Regions from separate parts of the Homo sapiens genome. Here all the other regions are linked to region 2. Evidence: promoter capture Hi-C in human tissues and cell types (Jung and others, 2019). All regions are on one chromosome and are shown on one strand. The core of a region is centred on a gene start or on the middle of the fragment in contact, and the rest is flanking DNA. Distances in the headings are between cores, read along the strand shown. Region 1 has its middle 62 kb from the start of VPS13A. Region 2 holds the start of FOXB2 (forkhead box B2). Region 3 has its middle 8.0 kb from the start of PRUNE2.

Region 1 (4,091 bases), core at 568-3,067, 96 kb after region 2:
AAAGTACCTATGTTGTCAGCCATGTAATATTCTCTTACCAAAAATGCTTAACCCTATACAAATTAGTTAGGCAGAAGGAATAAGATCTAGTGTTCAGTAGCACAGTAGGGTCATTAAAGTTACAATAATTTATTGTATACTTCAAAATAACTAGAAGAGAAGATTTGGAATGTTCCCAACACAAAGAAATGATAAATGTTTGAGGTGATGGATATCTCAATTACCTGTATTTGATCATTACACATTGTATGATTGTATCAAAATACCATATGTACCCCGTAACTAAATACAACTATTATGTGTCCATACAAATTAAAAGTTAAAAACACATTAAAAATACTTAACCCTAATATAATTTTGTGAGGATATAATTTAACAAATCTAAATGATGTGACATTCTACAAGACAACTGCTCTGAGCTCCTCAAAAATATCAGTAACATGAAAGTAAAAAAAAACCAGAGGCTTATTGTACTGGATTTCAACAAGCTTGAAGAAACATGGCAACTAAATAATCCTCTGCATAATCCTTGATTGTACTCTGGATTTTAAAACAAATCTATACAAATACATGATTTGAGTAATTGGTGGAATTTGAATATTAATTACATTTTGGATAATATTATTGTGTCTGCTGGGCACAGTGGCTCACACCTGTAATCTCAACACTTTGAGAAGCTGAGGAGGATTACTTGAACCCAGGAGTTTGAGACCAGCCTGGGCAACATAGTGAGACCTCACCTCTATAAAAAAAAATTATCTGGGAACGATGGCATGCACCTGTGGTCCTAGCTACTCCAGAGGCTGGGATGGGAGATGGGAGGATCGCTTGAACCTGGGCAGTTGAGGCTGTAGTGAGCCATAATTGCAGCATTGCATTCCAGCCTGGGTGACACAGCAAGATCCTGTCTCATAAAAAAAAAAGAAAAAAAAAGAATATTATTGTGTCAATCTTAAGTATCTTGGGAGTGATAATGGCATTGCGACTGTGAAGAATACATACTGAAGAATTTAAAGGTGAAGCATCATGATATCAGCAAGTTACTTTCAAATGATTCAGCACAACAGAGAGGGCAGAGGCACAAATGTGGCACAATGTTAACAACTGATGAATAAGGGTATGGAGGCATTGTGGTTGTATGTTGCTGCATACCAAACTACCCCAAAGGTTAGTGGCTTAAAAAAAAACTCATTATATTTTACCATTTTATGGATCAGGAATTTGGGAGGACTTTCACTGGATGATGGTTCTGCTCTAAGTGGCATTACCTACAGTCACTTGGTGACTGGCTATTCACACAGCTGATGGACAACTGGTTCAGAGAATCCAAAACATGCCTGGTGCTTTGGTGGAGATGGCTGGATTGAGCTTTCCCTCTCTGGGTAGTCTTGGGGTCTCTCATCAGCCTCTTCACCAGGGTAGTGGAACTTAACATGGAGGCTCAGGGCTTCAGGAAACCCCCTAAAAAAGCCAGTCTTCTTGAGAGCTAGGTCCAGAACTGTCACAGAGTTCTGAGTTAGATTTCAGAGCAATCTAAAATCTTCTGCCATTTTAGATTGCTCAAGAAGTCACAGTAGTTCAGATCCAAGAAAAAAAAGGGACCCCACATCTCAATGAGAAGAGTGTAAAATAACTTATGACCATCTCTACTCCACCACAATAGGTTTCTATAGTTTTGAACGTTTTCAGAATGAGGGGTGGGGGAAGTTTTAATTAGTGTGTTTGGCATTGTTTTGCAAGTATATCCGTACCCTAAACTCCTAATTGTTTTTTATTTTGATAGTTCCGAGTTCCTCTCCAAAAAGTATATACCAGTTTGCCTAGCAAAAGTGCATGGGAGTCACTGTGTTCTTCATTATTCGAAATAGTTTTAAAGTATACCTATACTGTGACATATCCCTCATCAAAAAGTGGAGTCTAATTCTTCTTCCATTCATTGTGGGCCACACTTAGTAGCTTCTAATGAATAGGATACGGTGGGAGTGATGATGTGTGATTTGCAAGGTGAGATCCTAAAACGAGGTCCAGCTTCCCCCTGAATCCTTGTCTGTTGGGACATGCACTTTGGGAGCCCTGAACTGACAGCTAAGAACCCTGGCTACTAGAGTGGCCAACTTTTTTGAGGGCCAACGTGGACACAACTATACTGAATTTAAAAAAAAAACCCAAATGTAATAATCTAATATGTAATGAATAAGTATACTCAAATGTGTTATTACTTTAACATAAAATATGAAAAATGGTATTTATTTGAAATTATATGTTCTGTACTACTTACTTTTATGTTAAATAAATGCTATTATTTAAACAAAACAACAATAAGCCTAGATAGCAGTGGCGGTTAGAAGTGATTAATAGCAGGATTAAATAAGCAATATGTGTGAGAAAATATAGCAATATTTTTTGATGTTTCTGTCTTCTGATACAGCAATTTATTTGAACTCTTTTTAAATGCTTTATTGGACTTTTTAATATTTCAGGTTATATTTTTATAAATTCTTTTTTTTTTTTTTTTTTGAGATGGAATCTTGCTCTGTCTCTCAGGCTGGAGTGCAGTGGCATGGTCTCTGCTCACTGCAACCTCCACCTTCTGGGTTCAAGCGAGTCTCCTGCCTCAGCCTCCCACGTAGCTGGGATTACATGCTTGAGTCACCATGCCTAGCTAATTTTTGTATTTTTAGTAGAAATAGGGTTTCCCCATGTTGGCCAGGTTGGTCTCAAATTCCTGACCTCAGGTGATCCGCCTGCCTCAGCCTCCCAAAGTGCTGGGATTACAGGAGTGAGCCACCACGCCTGGTCCTTTTTTTTTCTTTTATGTAGTACTAAAACTGAATACAGGCAAAAGTAAGATTCAGTTTGACTTGCAGTTCTGCTTTTATCAAACCCATATTACACTGATTCCTGGTGTCAGGTCAATGTGATGTCAATTAAGCTAGCTATCCTCTCAACAAAAATGCCTATGTTCCTTTGCACATGAAATACTCAGGATATTACTTACTGGCAACAGCAGAATTTGGACCTGTGGTGCTCTAAAAATGCCCGTCTGTTCTGTATCCACAGGCTTGTTCTGGTACACCAGCTCATCATTAAGCAGGTGCTTTGCATCTATAACTTCATCGTTATAGGCTATCCATGTCTAAAATGTCCATGATTTTCAAACACTCACATTAAATGTCATGATTAATTAAGTCTCTCTCAGGGAAAATTTTTGAACTTGTAAAATTGAAAGTAGATTTGACATCAACCTAAAAAGCGTTTACACGGCAAAGGAAACAATCAACAAAATGAAAAGGTAACCTGCCAAATGGGAGAAAATATTTGAAAACCATATATCTGACAAGGGGTTAATGTAAAAAAATATATCAGGAGGCCGGGTGCAGTGGCTAATGCCTGTAATCCCAACACTTGGGAGGCCAAGGCGGGCAGATCACCTGAGGTCAGGACTTCCAGACCAGCCTGACCAACAAGGTGAAACCCCGTCTCTACTAAAAATACAAAAATTAACCAGTCGTGGTGGCGGGCGCCTGTAATCCCAGCTACTTGGGAGGTTGAGGCAGGAGAATCACTTGAACCCAGGAGGCAGAGGATGCAGCGAGCCAAAATCATGCCATTGCATTCCAGCCTGGGCAACAAGAGCAAAACTCCATCTAAATAAAATAAAATAAAATAAAATAAAATAAAATAAAATAAATATATCAGGATAGCACACAATTCAATAGCAAAAAAACCCAAATAACACAATTTAAAAATGGTCAAATGACTTGAATAGACATTTTTCCACAGAAGATATACAAACGGCCAACAGGTATATGAAAGGGTACTCGACATCACTAATCATCAGGGAAATGCAAATCAAAACCATAACAGGTTATCACCTCACACCTGTTAGGATGGCTAGTATCAAATATAAAAGAGATAAGTGTTGGAGAGGGTCTGGAGAGAAAAAGAGCCCTTATACACTATTGGCAGGAATGTAAATTGGTACAGCCATTATAGAAAACGGTATGGCAGTTTCTCAAAAAATTAAAAATAGAACTACCTTATGATCCAGCAACCCCACTTCTGGGTATATATCCAAAGGAAAGGAAGTC
Region 2 (4,084 bases), core at 1,070-3,569:
GAAAACACCCGATCTGGTGTCACCAAGGTTGCTAGTTAGGGGGCAGCCCCCCAAGCAGCTGGGCCGATGGCTTTCTTCCAGGTTAGGCGTGGGAAAACCGAGGGAGCCATAGTGTCCAAATGCTCCTTTCTCCTCAAATCGCCTAACGGGAAAGGACCCGTGAATTTCCAACTTCAGCCACCCTATTTTACAAATAATGAAACAGTCCCAGAGACGGAGAGTATACTTGTTTCTAAACTCTGCTTTTCCTCCCAGCTGAAGGGCAAAGGTAGCCAAAACGAGTATACAACTTCAGGTTCTCCCTGCAGTAAACTGGGGTTTCCTGCTGGGTGTTTGGATGAGTGCAGAGCAGGAACCTCCAAGCAGAAGGACCTCACTCCTGGGTTCATCCACCTCTCCCTCGCAGATCACACCAGGATCCTGTGGACTGATAATTTTTGCTTCCTATTTAATTATTTCCATTCCACCTCCTGCCTCGCCCTGGCCCCACACCACCGTGCTAAGAATAGCAAAGATTTCCTTCCAGCACACACAGGTGATGGGACCCCTGAATCCCCAACTCTTACTTCTGGCCCCAGCTCAGACATCGCCATCCCAGAGAAACCTCATCTTGTCCAACTCACTCGCTCCAGGAAAGTGTGGTGGAGCCTCCATTCGCCAAGCCCTTTAGTGCCTATTCTATTAATTTCTTGGTTACTGTTCGTCTCACCCTCTATACCGCGATGGTGGAGCTCGGATACTGTCTCCTGTCTCCCTGCACCTGGTGCCTCACATGCAGTTGGCGCGCAATAAAACTGAGATGAATTTGGCATTTGGTGAAAACACCCCATGCTTTCTTCCCCATGAGTTTTTCCCTCCAGCCCTCTAATCATCGGGGTTTCTTGCAGAGAAGAGGCCTTGAGGACACGATACTCTGAACTTGACCCAGAGTGTCTAGCCCAGGAAAAAGGGTTTGTAAGGAGAGAGAAGCTCACAGCGAGTAGATGAAAACAGGGAAGGGTAAAAGGAAGGGGGCGGAAGAGGGAGATGCCAGAGAGAAGAGAAGCAAGAAGGCAGTGTCCTGTTCCCCCTCCACCGTGCTTGGTGGCCCGGGTGGGGCGCAGCTGCGGGAAATGCACCCGGAGCTGTGCCCCCTCCCGGCGAACAGCCTGCGCCACCCGCCGCACCGGGAGGTGGCTGGGGGCTGCCGAGCGAGTGGTGAACGCGATGGGTGGAGAGCGCCCGAAACGAGGTGGAAAAGGGGGCGGGGGCGAGGCACGGCGCCTTCTTGCCCCTTCTTCAGCTACAGACGCGGCGGCGGCGGCTGAGTCCCTCAGCCTCGGTCATGTGATAGTCTCGAAGCGCTAGCTGCGGGGGTCTCGGCGTCTCGGGGACCATTACAAAACGCAGCCAGGAGAGCGCGTCGCTGCCACTGCCGTCGCCTCTCCTCCTCAAGACAAGCCCGGGAGAAAGGCGGCAGCTGCGGCGCGGACGGCTGAGCCTCCCCGGCCAGCACTCACCCAGCATTCGCAGACGCCCTCTCCAGCCCGCCGCTCGCTCCCAGAGTCCTGCGCCCCACACTCCTCAGCAGAACCTGCGGGCGCTGCCGCTTCAGAAACCACCAAAGTTTTTTCTCCTCAGCGACAGCCTAGGGCTGCGCGTCTCTTCTAACCCCGGCGACGCTGCGAGCCTCGGAGAAAAGAGAGGCGCCCTAGAAGCCAATCTTCTCTCTCCTTACCCTGATTTTTCACTCCAGGAAAAGGAGAACTCCAGCGCGGTCTGGCTAAGTGCCTGGCCAGGGGCCTGCGTCCAGGGCACTGGAAGTCCTGCTGTCACTGGCCTCCAGGACAGCAGGCGCAAACTCAGATTTAAAGGGCCAGAGTCTCTACTGCCCAGACCTTCCTCCCAGCCATCTTGGTCTGGGTTTCCCTCGGACCTAGAAAAAGCAAAGAGGCCGGGAGGAAACACGGCCCCTTGCCACTCTCCTCTGCAGCCAGCTCCAGCACTCAGTCTTTGGCCACCCGGGGGAAGACGCAGAGAAGGCGGCGGTAAACCTGGTGCACTCCGCCCGCGACTGTGCGCGCCAGTCGGCAACCGTCGGGGCCAGAAGTTGCCAGCTTCCGAGAGCTGAGTAGGCCCGAAAGGCCAAGGTCGGAGACACCAGGCAATTCGGAGAAGGCAGGAGAGAGAAGCAGAGAGGGCCTGGAGGGCGAGAGGGCAAAGTGGCGGGACTGGAGGGGCCGAGTGGGAATTAGTGGGGGCAGCCAGGCCCCAGGAACGGAGTGCGGAGAGATTCTGTGGTCCAGTGCGGGCCGGAGGGCGGTGGAGGAGCCGGGGGCGATGCCGCGGCCGGGGAAGAGCTCGTACAGCGACCAAAAACCGCCCTACTCTTACATCTCGCTGACCGCCATGGCAATCCAGCACTCGGCCGAGAAGATGCTGCCGCTGAGCGACATCTACAAGTTCATCATGGAGCGCTTCCCCTACTACCGCGAGCACACACAGCGCTGGCAGAACAGCCTGCGCCACAACCTCTCCTTCAACGACTGCTTCATCAAGATTCCGCGGAGGCCCGACCAGCCTGGCAAGGGTAGCTTCTGGGCGCTGCACCCCGACTGCGGGGACATGTTCGAGAACGGCAGCTTCCTGCGGCGTCGCAAGCGCTTCAAGGTGCTGCGCGCCGACCATACTCACTTGCACGCGGGAAGCACCAAGAGCGCGCCGGGCGCCGGTCCGGGAGGGCACCTTCACCCCCATCACCACCACCACCCCCACCACCACCATCATCACCACGCTGCCGCACACCACCACCATCACCACCACCCACCCCAGCCGCCGCCGCCGCCGCCCCCGCCGCCGCCGCACATGGTACACTATTTCCATCAGCAACCGCCTACTGCTCCGCAGCCGCCTCCGCACCTCCCGTCACAGCCCCCGCAGCAACCGCCCCAGCAGTCGCAGCCTCAGCAGCCGTCTCACCCCGGCAAGATGCAGGAGGCGGCGGCCGTGGCGGCGGCGGCGGCGGCGGCCGCGGCAGCCGCGGTGGGCAGCGTGGGACGCCTGTCTCAGTTCCCACCCTACGGGCTGGGCTCGGCCGCCGCCGCTGCCGCCGCGGCCGCGGCGTCCACGTCAGGCTTCAAGCACCCCTTTGCCATTGAGAACATTATTGGCCGGGACTACAAGGGCGTGCTGCAGGCTGGAGGGCTGCCCTTGGCGTCCGTCATGCACCACCTGGGCTACCCCGTGCCCGGCCAGCTTGGCAACGTCGTCAGCTCCGTGTGGCCGCACGTTGGCGTCATGGATTCGGTGGCCGCCGCCGCGGCCGCCGCAGCCGCAGCCGGAGTCCCTGTAGGCCCGGAGTATGGGGCCTTCGGGGTCCCGGTCAAGTCCCTGTGCCACTCGGCAAGCCAGAGCCTGCCTGCCATGCCGGTGCCCATCAAGCCCACGCCTGCGCTGCCGCCCGTGTCCGCGCTGCAGCCGGGGCTCACTGTCCCCGCGGCTTCGCAGCAGCCTCCGGCGCCATCCACCGTGTGCTCCGCGGCCGCGGCCTCGCCCGTTGCCTCTCTGCTGGAGCCCACAGCCCCTACCTCGGCCGAAAGCAAGGGCGGCTCCTTGCACTCGGTGCTAGTGCACTCCTAGGGGACCCGGCGGGCGTGGGGAGACCAGCGGGGTGAGAGACGCCGGGCCCGGAACCGCCCAAACCACCCGACGGGGAGAGGGCGCCCTGGTCAGGCCGGGCAGAGCTGGCGAGTCTCAGCCTTTGCTGGAACGGAAGGTATTTAAATAGACGAACAACCCCGAAAAGTGGATTCTCCAGTGGTCTGAATAAATATAACCTTCCTGGTGTCTGTGTTTATACTATGTTGTACAATCAGATTAATGAAAGCCAATTTTCAGGTAAGAGTTTCTATTGTAATTAATATAAATCCATAAGTTATGGGGGGAGGGAACGAAGGAGGTTAGGAAAGCCTCATTCGCTGGTAAATTGGAAGTCGATTCTGACCCTTATTCCTGGGAGCAGAAGCTGGCAGAGCTAAACCTCCCGCGAAGAATCCAACAGAGAGTGACGCTGAAACGGATCTCAGCCACCACGTTTCTCTCTGCT
Region 3 (4,069 bases), core at 192-2,691, 110 kb before region 2:
GGGAAAACAGAATACTGAAGAAATCAGCTTGGTTGGCAAAAAAAAAAAAAAAAAAATACCTGACATATGCTATCCTTTTAAAAATGAAATGTAGCTGGGATGGCAGCTGCTGATTCACTATTTGGGCACATTTCCAAGCTAGCTTCCTCACTGACCAACAACACCTCTCACAGGTAGATTCTCCTTGGTGCAGATGGGTTATGTTCGCTGCTTTTAAATTGTTTCATGTGACACAAGAGGTTCAAGAAACTGCATCTCACACTTGAACTAAATTTAAAAGCATTTTAAGCTTATTTCAAGGACAAGAGATAGAAACAGGACTAATGTGCATTAACTAGGGCCTCTCATTTAGCCTGTAAGCAACTGTTAAATGTCTGTTTTTTTGTCCTGTGGGTGGTCAGATACTATCCATGTTAGCAAATAATATTAAGAGGAATTAACTATTTTTTTTATTTTGTGGTTTAGCAAGAATATCCAAATTTTTTAAGGTAAGCTTTGCAAGACTTTTTTTAAAAGGAGTCCATATAGCCATTGTCTTCTCTGAGTTTCTGTAAAGAAAGGAAAAAGAGGAGTGATTGAGATTGTCAGAGCTGTATTAGCAAGTGGCAGGGCCCAGACCACTTGGGAGAATGTCCTGAGAGTCAAATGCTCAGGCTTTGAACGGGGTACATACAACTTGCGTCATTTCTGGGAACCACAGACATCTTGAAGAGCAATGAATTTAATTTGAAAGGACAGTGGAGGAGAGAGGAAGTACTCCGGCTCTGTGAGTCATCAGAATAATAAGGCAGTGGCTGCCACTTTCAGGTCTGTTGCCTGTGGAAAGATGTAGATAGGGCCTTAAAGTCCCAGCTTCCTCTCACACTATACATTCAGGTGGCTTCAGTTTTATACACGCTCTTCCTGCAGAAAGGTATCTCAAGTACCTTCAAAACAACGCTGGCTCTCTCAGTTACAGTATAAACTTTAACTCATGATCCCATCCTGCATTTCCACTGAGGAAGTATTTGGCAAGGAAAGTAGAATGTTAATAATTTCCACACCCTGAGAGTCGACCAACATGATCTCTCATCCTTGCAATAATGCTGTAAGGCCAGAACAATGGGAACTGCAACCAACCTATTCTAGAGCTGAAGAAACAGGCCCAAAATTGTTTACTGACATGCCTGAAGATTGAAATCTAGACTCTGTATTCCAAAGTTCAGGCCTTTTTCATCAAAAAGGCTAATGTTTATGAAGAGTTTCTTTGCATGAAATATCACTTTAATTTTTTATGTGTATTAATAGCATTTAGTCCTCATAACAAATGTATAAATCAGGTACTATTATCCTCATTTTAAAGATGTGCAAACTGAGGTACAAAGATGCAATTTTCACAAAATTACTCAGGTAGTAAGTAGCCAAAGCAGGTGACCAGGTCCAGAGCCCAGGTACTAAGCGACTGCACATCACTGCCTGTCCACTGGCATGGGCTACCCAGCTGCTCACCCAAAAAAGCAAATGTGGAGACTGGAGAAGAAATGAGTACTCACCACATGGCACTTTCAATTGCTCTGCCACAGTTAAGAATGAGCTGGTCACCCCTTCACCTACCTCTTCACCCCTTCACCTACTTGGCCACATAGACCTCATACCTGATGTTTGCAGATGAGTCAGAGAAATCACCAGCAAGAAAGAGGTAAATGTCCCAGAAGCTTGATCAGCACACATCATTAAAAGCTCCTGTCATCAATGATGGCTCAGCTAAATCATTGCTTCTTTCCCATCAGGTTCTCCTTTACCCAGCCCCCGTCCTCATCTCTCCCCTCATCATTCTTGAACCTCACCCCTTCCCAAAAAGTGGAACACTATTATGTTCTGATGGTTAAATGCTTGAGTTTTAGTCCTTTGGATAGTGATGTTAGTCCTTTGGATAGTGATTTTAGCATCTCCAGGTCTTAGGGTCCTAGGAGAAACAGAAGGCTTGAGTGGATGTTTCCAACCTTAACATTCTATGATTACAAAATGGAATCATACAATTCTTAGATCCACAAGAAACATGAAAGTGTACAAGAGAAATTGTCTTATTTTTGTTAAAAAGTCTTTGAATATCTTTGTAGCATTAGATGTTTGTGTAGAACAGAGGGATTATGTTAAGATGGCATAAAAATATCCACCTGTAAAAAAAAGTAATCAAGTATTTTAAGGAACTTCAACTCAAAGGTCAGTAATTAAGACATGTAGACATGTAAATAACAAGCCTGGAAAGAGAAAAATTAGCAAGATTTGTTAGAGGTATGTGTTTTCTTAGGTATCAAATCCTAATGTCCTCAGAGAAATTTTCTATTCATGACAGGAAGCCTGGAACCAAAAAAAAAAAAAAAAAGAAAGAAAGAAAGACTCAAATTTCAGGCTAAAGGATGCTGTTCAATTGTTGTCTAACAAAGGCCATTGATCTCTCTTCTTATATAGTGGCAATATTTCACTTAGAAAAAACTGAATTCAGTATGTAATGTATTTTCAATAATATTGTGTAGAAAGCAGTAAAATAAAAAACTGGATATTTAAAAATGTCCAACAAACTGTCGATTTCAATGAGGGCAAAAATTATTTGCTCTGCATTTTCCTTCTCTAAATCTCTGCATTATAAAACCACTGAAGTTCCAGAGGAAAAGGAAGAAGGAAATCCAAATCCATTAACGCAGAGCCGCAGTGTCCACCTACAGCATTTGCTTCTTTGCTGTATTTTCTTTAAACTGGGCAGCAAAGCAAAGGACCTGCTTCCCAGCAAACATCTCCGTCATACTCTCATTGACCTACTCCCTGGAGACACCACCTGCAATTCATCACTCTTGGGAAATGCTGCCACCCAATTTCTTCTGTTTCTGTCAAGGATTCATTCACATTAATATTCCACTAGACTTAGCTCAGAAAGTTGTTAGAAACCGATACTACCTCTTCTGGATTCCAGATTCCTTCTACTATGTGCCCCCCGCACCCCACCCCCACCTCCTTCACCCTGTCACCTTCCTTTCTGTGAATGAAGGGGAAAAAAAATCCTAAAAACGGTTTTAAAATATGGAGTCAGCAGTTGGGGAAGGGCTGGACTATTACCACTCCAATACTGCTATAACAGCCTCATTTTCATGTTAGTTTATTTAATAATAAACTTCTATAGATTCACTTTTCCCAGTAGTTGTTAGTTGAAAAGATTTGTTGATGTACAAAAACCACAAGAGGAAAGTCATTGTATTTTGGAAAAATGTCATGGAAATCACCAAAGCCATCCAGTAACAGTTGGCAGCTTTTTGGGGGATGGCAAATGTTTTGTGTTGAATGCTGTGTCATCCACCAAATGTCAACTTCAGGTAACGAGTCTTCACATCTTCTCCTTCCTGTGGAACCATAAGGCTCCAGAGGACAGGGCTTTGGTCTTACTCCTCTCTATATTCCCCCAGCTGCTTCCAGCACAGTGCCCTTTCCATGGTAGGTCCTCAAATAATTATAATAACACGTGTTGATCAATTCTCCTCTAGCTGAAGCCTTGAAAGAGAGAGGCTCATCAACCAGGTAGAAATAAAAAGAAATGCAGGTACTTCTGAAATGCTTTATTAGGTTCTATAAAGGGGTTAAAATGGTGATTTTTCAATCGTATTCAAAGACAGCACAGCATCTTTTAGAAATCTGACTCTGGCTAGAGTAGACCTGGAAACACATTGGATGGAGGAATCACAGCAAGTCACTAAGATCAGAATTACTGCTGGACCATGAAAGTAAACAGGAAAAGACAAAAAATATTTTAAATTAATCCCAAATATACATCTGTTAATTGCCATTTCAATTCTTCAAATATTTGCATATGCAAATGTGCCCATTCAACACTGAATTATTAAAATTGAGGCAGACAATTGAGCTTTGCACACAGCAAAGGCAGCCTGGAATGGAGAAAACTGACTGGAGGTTGAGGAGAGAAAACATAGGAAACTTCCACTCTTTCTCTTTGTGATAAGGGAACCTGGTAATGACCCAGAGACCCTGGGAACTCTGGAAAAGGGCAGCTCTAAATGGAGGAAGGACACCTTGCAGGGGG

The links. The method cuts DNA at HindIII sites, captures the fragments that hold promoters and counts their contacts. A contact is called where the count stands out against the background at its distance.
Region 1: a fragment that was not itself captured here is called in contact with the fragment with the promoter of FOXB2 in region 2 in 3 of the 25 tissues and cell types used here (H1 embryonic stem cells, bladder and lymphoblastoid cells).
Region 3: a contact is called between a fragment that was not itself captured here and the fragment with the promoter of FOXB2 in region 2, in 3 of the 25 tissues and cell types used here (IMR-90 fibroblasts, mesenchymal stem cells and spleen).

Annotation. Positions count from the first base shown.
Region 1 is chr9:77,113,700-77,117,790 of GRCh38, forward strand. No RefSeq gene overlaps it. Among named protein-coding and RNA genes, the nearest start is that of VPS13A, 62 kb to the right of the region's middle. The HindIII fragment of the contact is 7,528 bases long and covers 1-4,091 here.
Region 2 is chr9:77,017,336-77,021,419 of GRCh38, forward strand. FOXB2 (forkhead box B2) reads left to right here and starts at 2,320. Exons shown (of 1, transcript NM_001013735.1): 1 at 2,320-3,618. The coding sequence starts at 2,320. The coding sequence ends at 3,618. The HindIII fragment of the contact is 6,747 bases long and covers 1-4,084 here.
Region 3 is chr9:76,912,043-76,916,111 of GRCh38, forward strand. No RefSeq gene overlaps it. Among named protein-coding and RNA genes, the nearest start is that of PRUNE2, 8.0 kb to the left of the region's middle. The HindIII fragment of the contact is 3,388 bases long and covers 1-3,135 here.